Linked DNA regions of Homo sapiens: regions 2, 3 and 4 are each linked to region 1. The links are contacts of gene promoters, found by promoter capture Hi-C in blood cells and fetal thymus (Javierre and others, 2016). All regions are on one chromosome and are shown on one strand. The core of a region is centred on a gene start or on the middle of the fragment in contact, and the rest is flanking DNA. Distances in the headings are between cores, read along the strand shown.

Region 1 (3,024 bases), core at 118-2,617:
GGAGGAGACCGAGTCCAGGGTATGGGAGAAGGGCCCGGTCCGGGCTGTGCGGGTCCCAGCTGGAGGTGGGGCCTCACCTGTGTGCCCGTCTGGCCTGCATGGGCCAGGGCAGTTCCCGGGAAGGGTGAGGGTCCTGCAGCTCTGTCTGGGTGACTTCTGTGAAGGCCTTTCTGCTCCTTCCTCCATCCTCCTCCTCCTCCTCCAGCGCCCCCCAAGGCAGCACCCCAGGGTCTCGGTACCGAAGGGTGGCAGCACTGGGCAGCTCGTTCAGCACAGAAGACAGCGATGGGCCTGGGGAGGAGCAGGGGGCTGGGAAGACCCGGGAGTCTGGGCCCTAATTCCTCCTCCCTCAGACCAGGAAACCAGGTCCCCGGCCCCTCCTCCCTCAGACCCAGGAGTCCAGGCCCCCGGCTCCTCCTCCCTCAGACCCAGGAGTCCAGGCCCCCGGCTCCTCCTCCCTCAGACCCAGGAGTCCAGGCCCCCGGCTCCTCCTCCCTCAGACCCAGGAGTCCAGGCCCCCGGCTCCTCCTCCCTCAGACCCAGGAGTCCAGGCCCCCGGCTCCTCCTCCCTCAGACCCAGGAGTCCAGGCCCCCGGCTCCTCCTCCCTCAGACCCAGGAGAACAGGCCCCCGGCGCCTCCTCCCTCAGACCCAGGAGTCCAGGCCCCCGGCTCCTCCTCCCTCAGACCCAGGAGAACAGGCCCCCGGCCCCTCCTCCCTCAGACCCAGGAGTCCAGGCCCCCGGCTCCTCCTCCCTCAGACATAGGAATCCAGGCACCCAGCCCCTCCTCCCTCAGACCAGGAAACCAGGTTCCCAGCCCCTCCTCCCTCAGGCCCAGGAGTCCGGGTGCCAGCCTCTACTTCCCCTGGACCCAGGGGTCCACAGCCCTCAACTCCATCCCCAAGCGTGGAACCCTCCTACTCCAGGGCAGTGGAGTCCAGGCTTTAACTTCCTTTTCCCTCTAGCTCAGGAGTGTGGGAACCCAGCCTCTCCTATTCCCAAGACACCCAAACTCCCAGCCCTTAGCCCTCCCCTCCTCCCAGACTAGCCTGGTTCTCCAGGCTCCTCCTCCTCAGACCCTGGAGTTCCAGCCTCCAGTTCCCTTCTCCCCCATAATATCAGGAAGTGGAACCTTCTCTCTTTAGCCCTCAGACTCAGGAGGCCAGGCCTCCCCTTTCCTCCTCCAGCAGGACTCCCACCTAGCCTGAAGGTCGGATGGATCTGAGCTTCTCCTGGCATTCCCTACCTCCTCTGGCCTCCCGGGGGGCCAGCCACTCCCTAGAGGAGCCCCAGGCTTCTGATTCCAAGGTCGGGTTTTCTTCCATGGCCCCAGGCTGGGCTGTCTCTAGTGGCCACCAGGCAGACACTGCCCCAGGTAAGGGAGGGGCCAGGGGCAGGTGTGTACCTGGCCAGCAGGTGGCCCGGAGGGAGTAAGGTACACTTCCTGTGGTTTCTCAGGGCCGCTGATGCGAAAGGTCTCCTGGGAGCTGAAGTCCCCGTGGTGCCCCGGGCCTCACAGTTTGGTTCCTGGGCTGGGCGGGGGGGCTGTACCTCACCCTGGGACTTGGTGGACTAAGTCCTTCCCACCGTTTATCACCCAGATACCTGCACGGACACGATGCCTTTGTGCAACACTTTATTGGGAAAGATTTACACACGGTGACCTGTCATAGGCCAAGCGATGAGAAGAGGGCGCCAGGAGTGCTGGGGTCCCGAGGTGGCTCAGATGGAAGCCATGGGACGGCCGTCCCCAGGCCCGCGCACCCGCACCTCAGTTTCCCCTTTGTGAAATGGGAAGCTTATGCTTCCTTCCAAGTCTGCAATATTGGTGCGATGAGCTAAAAGTGGAGCGAAAGACACAAGGAAGAGGCTTCCCACTCCCAGGACCTGCCCCCAAGCTCCGACCCCACATTGTGGATGCAAAGAAAGGGAATTTGCCCAAAACCCACTGCCCAGGGGCCCCTTCCGTTTTGGGGAAGTGCAGTGCTCTCTGGATACCCAGAAGCTGGAGCAGGGGCCAGTGACTCTTGTCTGGACAATACTTTGATTTTGTAGGAGTGGAGGTGGCCTCTGGGCAGAGGGCAGGGAGGACACCCCCGGGTCTGCTTCAGTTGCAGGCAGGGTATTTAGCTGGGGAAGAGGAAATTCTCTCCAGGACCCTCTCCAAGGTAAGGACTCTTTCTGGGGAGGAGACAGCAGCCTGGTTCACAGAATTCCCGGGACCAGCTGGCAGAGGGAGCGTCGTGACAGCTTACTCCTCCCGGAGCTTCTCCGGGGCAAGGCTGGTGGGCTGGGATGCTGCCTTCCGCCGGCTGGGGCTGCCCCCACCTAAAGCCAGCCCCAGCCCCAGGGCTGCCAGGGCCAGGAAGTGGATACAGAAGTAGATGGAGGCCCAGTACCGAAGGGTGTCGGCCAAGGAGAGCAGCACGAAGCCCATGCACATGTAGTCATAGGCGCGCATCTTCAGGAACCAGTGCACCCAGTCCCAGGCCTTCTGGCCCCCTGGGCTCAGCCGCCCCCGCAGGGCTGACTCCAGCCGGCCCTCGGCAGCCAGGCACAGCGGGATGGTCAGGAAGCTCAGGTAGTAGCCCGGGTGGAGGCCGTGCCAGTAGGCGCTCAGCAGCATGGTCCAGGCGCTCCTGAGGAGGAGGCTGGGAGTCAGGACCTACGAGTCCAGGTCCCCAGTGCCCACTGCCCCCAGATCCAGGAGTCCAGGACCCCAGCCCCTCCTCCCTCAGACCGAGAAGTGCAGGCCCAGCCCCTCCTCCCTCAGACCCAGGAGTCCAGACCCCACCCCTTCCTCCCTCAGACCCAGGAGATCAGGCCCCAGTCCCTCCTCCCTCAGACCCAGGAGACCAGACCCCACCTCCCTCCTCCCTCAGATCCAGGAGTCCAGACCCCACTTCCCTCCTCCCTCAGATCCAGGAGACCAGACCCCACCTCCCTCCTCCCTCAGATCCAGGAGACCAGGCCCCAGGCCCTCCCCACTCAGACCCATGACCCTAGCTCCGGAAGGCGGAGGAG
Region 2 (2,777 bases), core at 153-2,652, 220 kb after region 1:
GAACTCCTGACCTTGTGATCCGCCCGCTTCGGCCTCCCAAAGTGCTGGGATTACAGGCATGAGCCACTAGAGTCTCTTTGTGAAAAGGAATGGAAGGATGTGGTGTGATGCAGCACGCATCACCAGGTCCCTGTCATAAATTTGCTTTTGTGGCCGGGCGCGGTGGCTCACGCCTGTAATCCCAGCACTTTGGGAGGCTGAGGCAGGCGGATCCCCTGAGGTCAGGAGATCGAGACCAGCCTAGCCAACATGGCGAAACCCCATCTCTACTAAAAATACAAAAAATTAGCCGGGCGTGGTGGCAGGCACCTGTAGTCCCAGCCACTCGGGAGGCTGAGGCAGGAGAATAGTTTGAACCCGGGAGGCGGAACTTGCAGTGAGCCGAGATTGCTGCACTCCAGCCTGAGCGACAGAGCGAGACTCTGTCTCAAAACAAAACAAAAAAAGCTTACCCTCCATGATGCAGCAATCCCACTACTGGGTATATGCTCAAAGAAACTGAAACCAGTGTGTGGAAGAGATGTCTGCACCCCTATGTGTATTGCAGAGTTATTCACAATAGCCAACATATGGAATCACCTAAGTCTCCATCAGTGGACAATGGGTAAAGGAAATGTATATATACACAGTGGAAATACTATCCAGCCTTAGAAAGGAAGGAAACCCTGTCATTTACAGTATGGATGTAATTGTCAACCTTCAGGACATCATGCCACATGAAATAAGCCAGATACAGAAAGACAAATATCGCACAACCTCACTTATACATGGAATATTAAAAAGTTGAACTCAGGCCTTCGAGACTAGCCATGGCCAACATGGCAAAACCTACTCGGGAGGCTGGGCACGGTGGCTCACGCCTGTCAGCACTTTGGGAGACCAAGGCGGGCAGATCACCTGAGGTTGGGAGTTCGAGACCAGCCTGACCAATATGGAGAAACCCCGTCTCTACTAAAAATTCAAAATTAGCCAGGCGTGGTGGTGCATGCCTGTAATCCCAGCTACTCGGGAGGCTGAGGCAGGAGAATGGCTTGAACCTGGGAGGCGGAGGTTGCAGTGAGCCGAGATTGCGCCACTGCACTCCAGCCTGGGCGACAGAGTGAGACTCTGTCTCAAAAAAAAAAAAAAAAAAAAAGTTGAACTCACAGAAGCAGAGAGCGGAATGGTGGTGACCAGGGGCTTGGGAAGGGGAGTAGGGATTGGGAAGATCGTGGTCAGAGGGTACACAATTTTAGATAGAAAAAAATAAATTCAAGAGATCTGTTGTGCAACATGGTGACAAATTAGTGAAAATGTATTATGTACTTAAACATTGTTAGCAGAATAGATCGTAAGGGCTCTCGCCACACACGCAAAAATGACAACTATGTGGCCACGAACGGTGGCTCACACCTATAATCCAAGCACTTTGGGAGGCTGAGGCAAGTGGATCACTTGAGGTCAGCAGTTTGAGACCAGCCTGGGCAACATGGCCAAACCCCATCTCTACAAAAAATACAAAAATTAGCCAGACGTGGTGGCACACACCTGTAATCCCAGCTACTCGGGAGGCTGAGGCACAAGAATCACTTGACGTGGGAGGTGGAGTTTGCCGTGAGCTGAGATCGCACCACTGCACTCTAGGCTGAGTGACAGAATGAGACTCTGTCTCAGAAAAAAAAGTGAGGTGATGGATATGTTAAACATCTTGATTATGGTAATTATTTCACAATGTGTACATATGTCAAAACATCATGTTGTACACCTTAAATATATACACTTCTCTTTTTGAGACGGAGTCTCGCTCTGTCGCCCAGGCTGGAGTGCAGTGGCGCAATCTCGGCTCACTGCAATCTCCGCCTCCCGGCTTCACACCATTCTCCTGCCTCAGCCTCCCGAGTAGCTGGGACTACAGGCGCCCGGCTAATTTTTGTATTTTTTTTTTTAGTAGAGACGGGGTTTCACCGTGTTAGCCAGGATGGTCTCGATCTCCTGACCTTGTGATCCACCCGCCTCGGCCTCCCAAAATGCTGGGATTACAGGCATGAGCCACCGCGCCTGACCAAATATATACGCTTTTATTTGTCAATCATATCTCAATTAAGCCAGGAAAAAATTGGTAAGGCTACTTTTGGAAACACTTTGACACTATTTCAAAAAATTGAAACTAACAATCCCTATAGCGCAATCATTCCATTCTTATATGTATACTCTTTAAAAATTCTTGCACATATGCACCAAGAAACATGTAAAAAATGTCTGTTACGTAATAGGGAAAGTAAAATAAATAGAAATAGAAAAGTAACTAAAATAAAAGAAGCCCATGTGTTCATCAACAGGTACAAAAATACAAAAACTGTGATATAGACCTATATTGGAAAGCTTCAAACTATGGCATTGAAAATGATTTCACGAATCATTTCAAAAAAAAATTCATGGTTTCTGTTGTCATTTTTACCAAGTTCATTCCAATATGTGGTTTAGAGACACTATTTTAAACAAATAAGGGGCCAGGTGCAGTGGCTCACGCCTATAATCCCAGCACTTTGGGAGGCTGAGGCGGGCAGATCACCTGAGGTCAGGAGTTTGAGACCAGCCTGGACAACATGGTGAAACCCCGTCTCTACTGAAAATACAAGAATTAGCCAGGCATGGTGGTGCGCGCCTGTAATCCCAGCTCTTCGGGAGGCTGAGGCAGGAGAATTACTTGAACCTGGGAGGCAGAGTTTGCAGTGAGCCGAGATCATTCCACCGCACTCCAGCCTGGGCAACAGTGTGAGACTCTGTCTCAGAACTTA
Region 3 (3,088 bases), core at 406-2,905, 150 kb after region 1:
GGGCGAGCCTGACTGATGTCAGGCCCTCCACAAGAGGTGGAGGAGCAGAGTCTTCTCTAAACTCCCCCGGGGAAAGGGAGACTCCCTTCCCCAGTCTGCTAAGTAGCGGGTGTTGTTCCTTGCCACTTACGCTACCGCTAGACCACGGTCCGCTTGGCAACGGACGTCTTCCCAGACGCTGGCGTCACCGCTAGACCAAGGAGCCCTCTGGTGGCCCTGTCCGGGCATGACAGAGGGCTCGCACTCTTGTCTTCTGGTCACTTCTCACTGTGTCCCCTCAGCTCCTATCTCTGTATGGCCTGGCTTTTCCTAGGTTATGATTACAGAGGGAGGATTATTATAATATTGGGATAAAGGGTAACTGCTACAAACAAATGATTAATGATATTCATATATAATCATAACTAAGATCTATATCTGGTATAACTATTCTTGTTTTATATTTTATTATACTGGAACAGCTCGTGTCCTCTGTCTCTTGCCTCGGCACCTGGGTGGCTTGCCACCCACAGCATTCTAGCCTGGGCGACGAGCAAGACTCCGTTTAAAAATATATATATATACATATATAAACATATTCCTGAATGTCTATACTATAAAATATTTTTAAATATAACTTATAAATCTAAAGATAATACCTTAAAAAAGGAAATAGAATTGAGTTCCTATCAAATTAGGGCATTACTAAACAAGGAAGAATTATTTGTACTAGAATGTAAGCAAAATTACTTGACCATATATTTTATAATGCATATATTATTTATCATATTATATAATAAATGTATACTTTTAAATCAAATTATATATTATGTAGTGACATATAGTTAATATTATTATATAATTTTGACTATATATAGTAAAACATAAGTGAATACACCCTCAAAAATGTTTAATTCTTAAAATATGTATGGTCAAAAATTCTAAATTTCATCCTAGAGAAATAGCTGACTCCACATTCGGAGAGAAAATACAGGAGATGAAGTCAGAACTTCTTATCATGCAAGAAAGCAAAGACATCACCACATACCATCAGATTCATGTTACCTGAACATAAAGTCTATCATGAAAAGTTCCCAATGGCAAAATGTGGAATATTTATAGAATCAAATAATATAGGTAGTGTATTAAAACTAATGAATATGTTCAAAGCCTATCAGTTTACTACTGTTAAAAACAAAATTAAAAAACAAAAAACCCCTCAAATATGAGGAATGGGAAAAGAACAAAATCTCCACATCAAAAACGTGGAAATGAAGGCAAGAAGCAAGATCTCTTTTGTTTATCTGAAGTGTTACACAGGAAACATTCTTTTCTGTAGAATGTTTCTACATAATAATAAGTATAGTAATAGCTATAGTAATGTTTTTGCCTAAGAATAGCTGTAGAGTTTTTGCATAATAATAGTTAACCCTGCAAAGCTTGGATAACCTGTGCGTTGAGTATACAAGCAATAAACATCAATGGCTGCCAAAACCCTTAGGCTGAAGGTTGATAGTGAATATAATAACGAGTGGATCCTGCTGATAGTACAGCCATCAGTACAGAATTGCAAGGTGGAGAATGCAAGACACAAGCAAATGAGCCATTGTGTCTCACTTCTGACATTTTCTAAGCATCTTTTTCACCATACCCTCAAATCTAGACCGTTATCTGGCTGGGCGTCTCTATGTTTCTTGGATTTGTGTGTCAAACTCTCTAGCGAGTTTAGGAAAATATTCATGGACTATATCCTCAAATATATTTTCCAAGTTGCTTATTCTCTCTTCCCCTTTCAGGAATGCTGACAAGTCATACATTTGGTGTCTTTAGATAATATCATATTTCTCAGAGATTTTGTTCACTTTTAAAAATATTTTTTCCTTATATTTGACTGATTTGATTCAAACAAGTCTTCAAGCTTTGAAATTCTTTTCCTCAGCTTGGTCTATTCTGCTGTTAATGCTTCTCATCGTATTATGAAATTCGTGTCATGAATTTTTCAGCTCGAGAAGTTCAGTTTGGGTGTTTCTTAAAATTTAATCGTTCATGTCATTAATCATTTTACTGGATTGCTTGGCTTCCTTGGATTGAATTTCAACTTTGCTCTTGATTTGAATGACCTTCCTTGCCATCCAGATTCCAAATTCTACGTTTGTCATTTCAGACAATTCATACTGATTAAGAACAATTTCTGGGGAGCTCGTGGACTGGTTTGGAGATAATAGGAGTTATTTCCCTGATTTTTTTTCTCATCTGGGAGGGTTGCTATTCCTTTCATTGCAAGGGTATAAATTGAGTATAGTCTGTTGGCTTTATTTCTGGAAGTTTTCAGGGGACTAAGGCTCTGTACAGGGTCTTTGCTGAATTCTTGCTCTTGGTTTTCCAGGCGGTAGAATTTAGTAAAGTGATTTTTGGTGTTGTAGTGTGGCTGTAATCCAGTAGATGGCGCTTGAGAGCAATAGGCAATAGACAGGCTCTTACTCCACTGCGTGGTGCCTTTGTTTATCTTTGTTCTTGACCTTGATACTTTTGAAAAGGTCAGAGCAGTTTTTTTGTTTTTGTTTTTTGAGACAGGGTCTCACTTTGTCACCCAGGGTGGAGTGCAGTGGCACGATCTTGGATCACTGCAGCCTCAACCTTCCCAGGCTCAGGTAGGTGACAGAGCAGGCAAGTTAACTTAAGGCCTCCTCCTTGGCAATCTGGTCTCAAGTAGGGGACAGGTCCCCACAGACAGAACTGAGGGGCAAGTGTGGCATGGGCTCCAGACCCCGAGCACTGGAATTAGACACCTCTCCTTTGCAGAAAGGTTTAGCCTTTCCTCAAGCGGTTCTGCAAAGGAGAGGTGTAGCTGGGGTGGCGTGGGCAATGGTGGTGGCAGAGTTTGTGTGAAACTTGTCTCTTCCCCAATCACTGTCACTTGTTTCAGGAGACGTTGTAATGTGCTGTATGGTTTGACCTCCAGGCCAGTAGGTGGCAATTGCTGGTGAGAGCCAGTTGTAGCGCTGGCAGTGGGCTTTATGCTTGACCTTTGTTAACCAGAAGCATTCAGGTATCCTAAGTGATGGGTTGGGTTGTGGAAAACTCAGTGGTCTTGATCAGTACTCTGCCT
Region 4 (2,988 bases), core at 1-2,500, 170 kb after region 1:
GATGGCAGATCTCTTGAACCCTGGAGGTGGAGGCTGCAGTGAGCCGAGATCGCGCCACTGCACTCCAGCCTGGTAGACAGAGCAAGACTCCGTCTCAAATAAATAAATAAATAAATAAATAATTAAAACATAAAAAAATAAAAATTTTCTCGGGGAGCTGACTATGAGAAGGCAGAAATATGTTAATATCTCCAGGTGTCTGTCTGGGGTGTGGTGGGTGGGAAAAAGGCGGAAGTGGTTTCCTGTAATGAATTTGCTCTGTAGGAAGGAGCCATGTTTTTTGGCGCTGGGGATGTTAACTTAGTCCTGGTCATCAACAACATGAACATCAGGCAGAGATACTTGTGTCTTACTTGGAGGAAGATTCAGACCCGGAGAAGGATTTTGATCAGGGAAGAGTCAGCTACAGATAAGGTTGGGGCTATGAGAATAATAGATGTCAGCCTGGAGTGAGGGTTTGGAGAAGAGGACCAGGAGGAGGCTGATGTGGTGGCACAGACAGGCTGTCTTCAGTCTCCAGTGAGCTTGCACTGTGGGAATGGACCCGGGGACGTGGGTGAGGAGGGCTCAAGGGTACAACTGCTTGGATTTGTTCACTGTATGTGAAACAAAAGTGAGTGAGCAACTAGGGTCTGTTTCACTCTCTGCCTTAGTTTACTGGAGGAACGAATGGTGTCATCCCAGGATGAATGATCCCGGGGAAGAACCAGGCTAGGGAGATATTTATAAGGCTGTTCACGGAGTGCAGAGGAAGCACTGTCTCCCTCCTGGCCCTGCTGTCTAGTTTTGTTTCTCCCAAGCACTTCTTCCCTCCGACTTTCTTAATTCTATAAGTAGCAGCACCAGAACGCGATCATGTCTGTTGCAGAGATGTGAATGGAGCTGGAGGTCATTATCCTTAGTAAACAAACACAGGAACAGAAAACCAAATACCACATGTTCTCACTTATAAGTGGGAACTCCATCAAATCTCCAAGTCATTTACAACCTCTTCTTCCCCTGTCCATAACTCTTCATTTGATACCGTGAATTCTGTCTCCATGCTTTGGGCCAAAGCATTCACTGGAAGAAATTCCCAAGCTTTGGTTTAAGGCATGAGGGTTCATACTTACTGTCAGTTGACCTTCAGCAGGTGACATCCTCCCCTGCCCCATCCATTTTCCTCGTTGTAGGAAGATGGTAATTAACCCTCCCGTCAAGTTTTTTTGTTTTGTTTTTTGTTTTTTTTTTTCCTGACAGCGTCTCATGCTGTCACCCAGGCTGGAGTGCAATGGCACGATCTCTGCTCACTGCAACCTTGACTTCTTGGGTTCAAGCGATTCTCCTGCCTCAGCCTCCTGGGTAGCTGGGATTACAGGCATGCACCACTGCCAAGCGTGTCCATGTGAAGAGACCAGCAAACAGGCTTTGTATGAGCAATAAAGCTTTTAATTCACCTGGGTGCAGGTGGACTGAGTCTGAGAAAGGAGTCAGCGAAGGGAGATGGGGAAGGGGTTGCTTTATAGGAGTTGGGTAGGTGATGGAAAATTACGGTAAAAGGTGGTCATCTATTGTTGGCAGAGGAGGAGGTCACAAGGTACCTGGTGGGGACATCGTAAGACTTATTATCCAGAAGAAGAATGTCACAAAGTTGATTGATCGGTTAAGGTGGGGCAGGGACAAGTCACAATGGTGGAATGTCGTAATGTTGGTTAATCAGTTAAGGCAGGAACTGGCTGTTTTACTTCTTTTGTGGTTTTTCGGCTGCCCCAGACTTCTTGGCTCCTTCAGGCCATCTGGGTGTATATGTGCAGGTCACAGGGGTTACAATAGCTGAGCTTCAGCTCAGAGGCCTGACAACCACCACACTGGCCAATTTTCTTTTTTTTTAAATTTTTAGTAGAGACAGGGTTTCACCATGTTGGCCAGGCTGGTCTTGGACTCCTGACTTCAGGTGATCTGCTCGCCTTGGCCTCCCAAAGTGCTGGGATTACAGGCGTGAGCCACCATGCCTGACCTAAACCTTTAAAAGTGGATACTTGTGTGAGAGAGAGAAACCATGCAGAAGAGATTAAATAAAATTAGACGGATATAATTGTGTCTTGTTTCTTGTTTTGGTTTAGAAATATAAGTGTATTTTCTTGAATAGATATGATGCAAAAATATTTTTAAATATAACTCATAAACTTAAAGATAAAACCTAAAGAAAAAGAAAATGCGGTAAAACAGGTGGGAGGGGAAGCAGGAAAGGCAGGCACACTCGTGTAACTATGATTGAAAGAAAATCTGTATACAAGTGGACCTGCACAGTTCAAACCTGTGGAGTTCAAAGCTCAACTGTATGTTACTGCAAATGATTATAAGTGCTGTTATAGAAACATTCAAAGACCAGAAAAGGACCACAATGGCTGACCACACATAGCCAGGAAGAGCTTCTCCCACCGAGAGACCAGGCCATCAAGAAGACCAGAATGCTCTGGGCAGATCTTCTGAAAGAGGGCGCTGAGGGTGGATGGAGAGAGGACACAGATCCTGAGGATGGATGGAGGGAGGACACAGATCCTGAGGATGCATGGAGGGAGGACACAGATCCTGAGGATGGATGGAGGGAGGAAACAGATCCTGAGGGTGGATGGATGGATGGAGGACACAGATCCTGAGGGTGGATGGATGGAGGGAGGACACAGATCCTGAGGGTGGATGGAGGGAGGACACAGATCCTGAGGATGGATGAAGGGAGGACACAGATCCTGAGGGTGGATGGAGGGAGGACACAGATCCTGAGGATGCGTGGAGGGAGGACACAGATCCTGAGGATGGATGGAGGGAGGACGTAGATCCTGAGGGTGGATGGAGGGAGGACGCAGATCCTGAGGGTGGATGGATGGAGGACGCAGATCCTGAGGATGGATGGAGGGAGGATGCAGATCCTGAGGGTGGACGGATGGAGGGAGGACACAGATCCTGAGGATGGATGGAGGGAGGACACAGATCCTGAGGATGGATGGA

What was found. Contacts are between HindIII fragments. The CHiCAGO score rates a contact against its expected background, and 5 or more counts as called.
Region 2: a contact is called between a fragment that was not itself captured here and the fragment with the promoter of TMC4 in region 1, in 9 of 17 cell types (monocytes, erythroblasts, total B cells and 6 more). The highest score is 9.2, in monocytes.
Region 3: a fragment that was not itself captured here is called in contact with the fragment with the promoter of TMC4 in region 1 in 4 of 17 cell types (M0 macrophages, M1 macrophages, neutrophils and 1 more); the score reaches 8.2 in M0 macrophages.
Region 4: a fragment that was not itself captured here is called in contact with the fragment with the promoter of TMC4 in region 1 in 1 of 17 cell types (monocytes); the score reaches 5.1 in monocytes.

What each region holds. Positions count from the first base shown.
Region 1 is chr19:54,171,793-54,174,816 of GRCh38, forward strand. TMC4 (transmembrane channel like 4) reads right to left here and starts at 1,368. Exons shown (of 15, transcript NM_144686.4): 1 at 1,247-1,368; 2 at 78-291. The coding sequence starts at 1,325. It overlaps MBOAT7 (membrane bound acylglycerophosphatidylinositol O-acyltransferase MBOAT7), which reads right to left. Exons shown (of 8, transcript NM_024298.5): 8 at 1,623-2,639. The coding sequence ends at 2,252. RefSeq lists enhancers at 1,491-2,307, 2,308-3,024. The HindIII fragment of the contact is 9,651 bases long and covers 1-1,796 here.
Region 2 is chr19:54,395,410-54,398,186 of GRCh38, forward strand. No RefSeq gene overlaps it. Among named protein-coding and RNA genes, the nearest start is that of TTYH1, 19 kb to the right of the region's middle. The HindIII fragment of the contact is 1,914 bases long and covers 446-2,359 here.
Region 3 is chr19:54,322,877-54,325,964 of GRCh38, forward strand. No RefSeq gene overlaps it. Among named protein-coding and RNA genes, the nearest start is that of LILRA5, 11 kb to the left of the region's middle. RefSeq lists a silencer at 2,301-2,595. The HindIII fragment of the contact is 479 bases long and covers 1,417-1,895 here.
Region 4 is chr19:54,346,581-54,349,568 of GRCh38, forward strand. No RefSeq gene overlaps it. Among named protein-coding and RNA genes, the nearest start is that of LILRA4, 8.9 kb to the left of the region's middle. The HindIII fragment of the contact is 344 bases long and covers 1,079-1,422 here.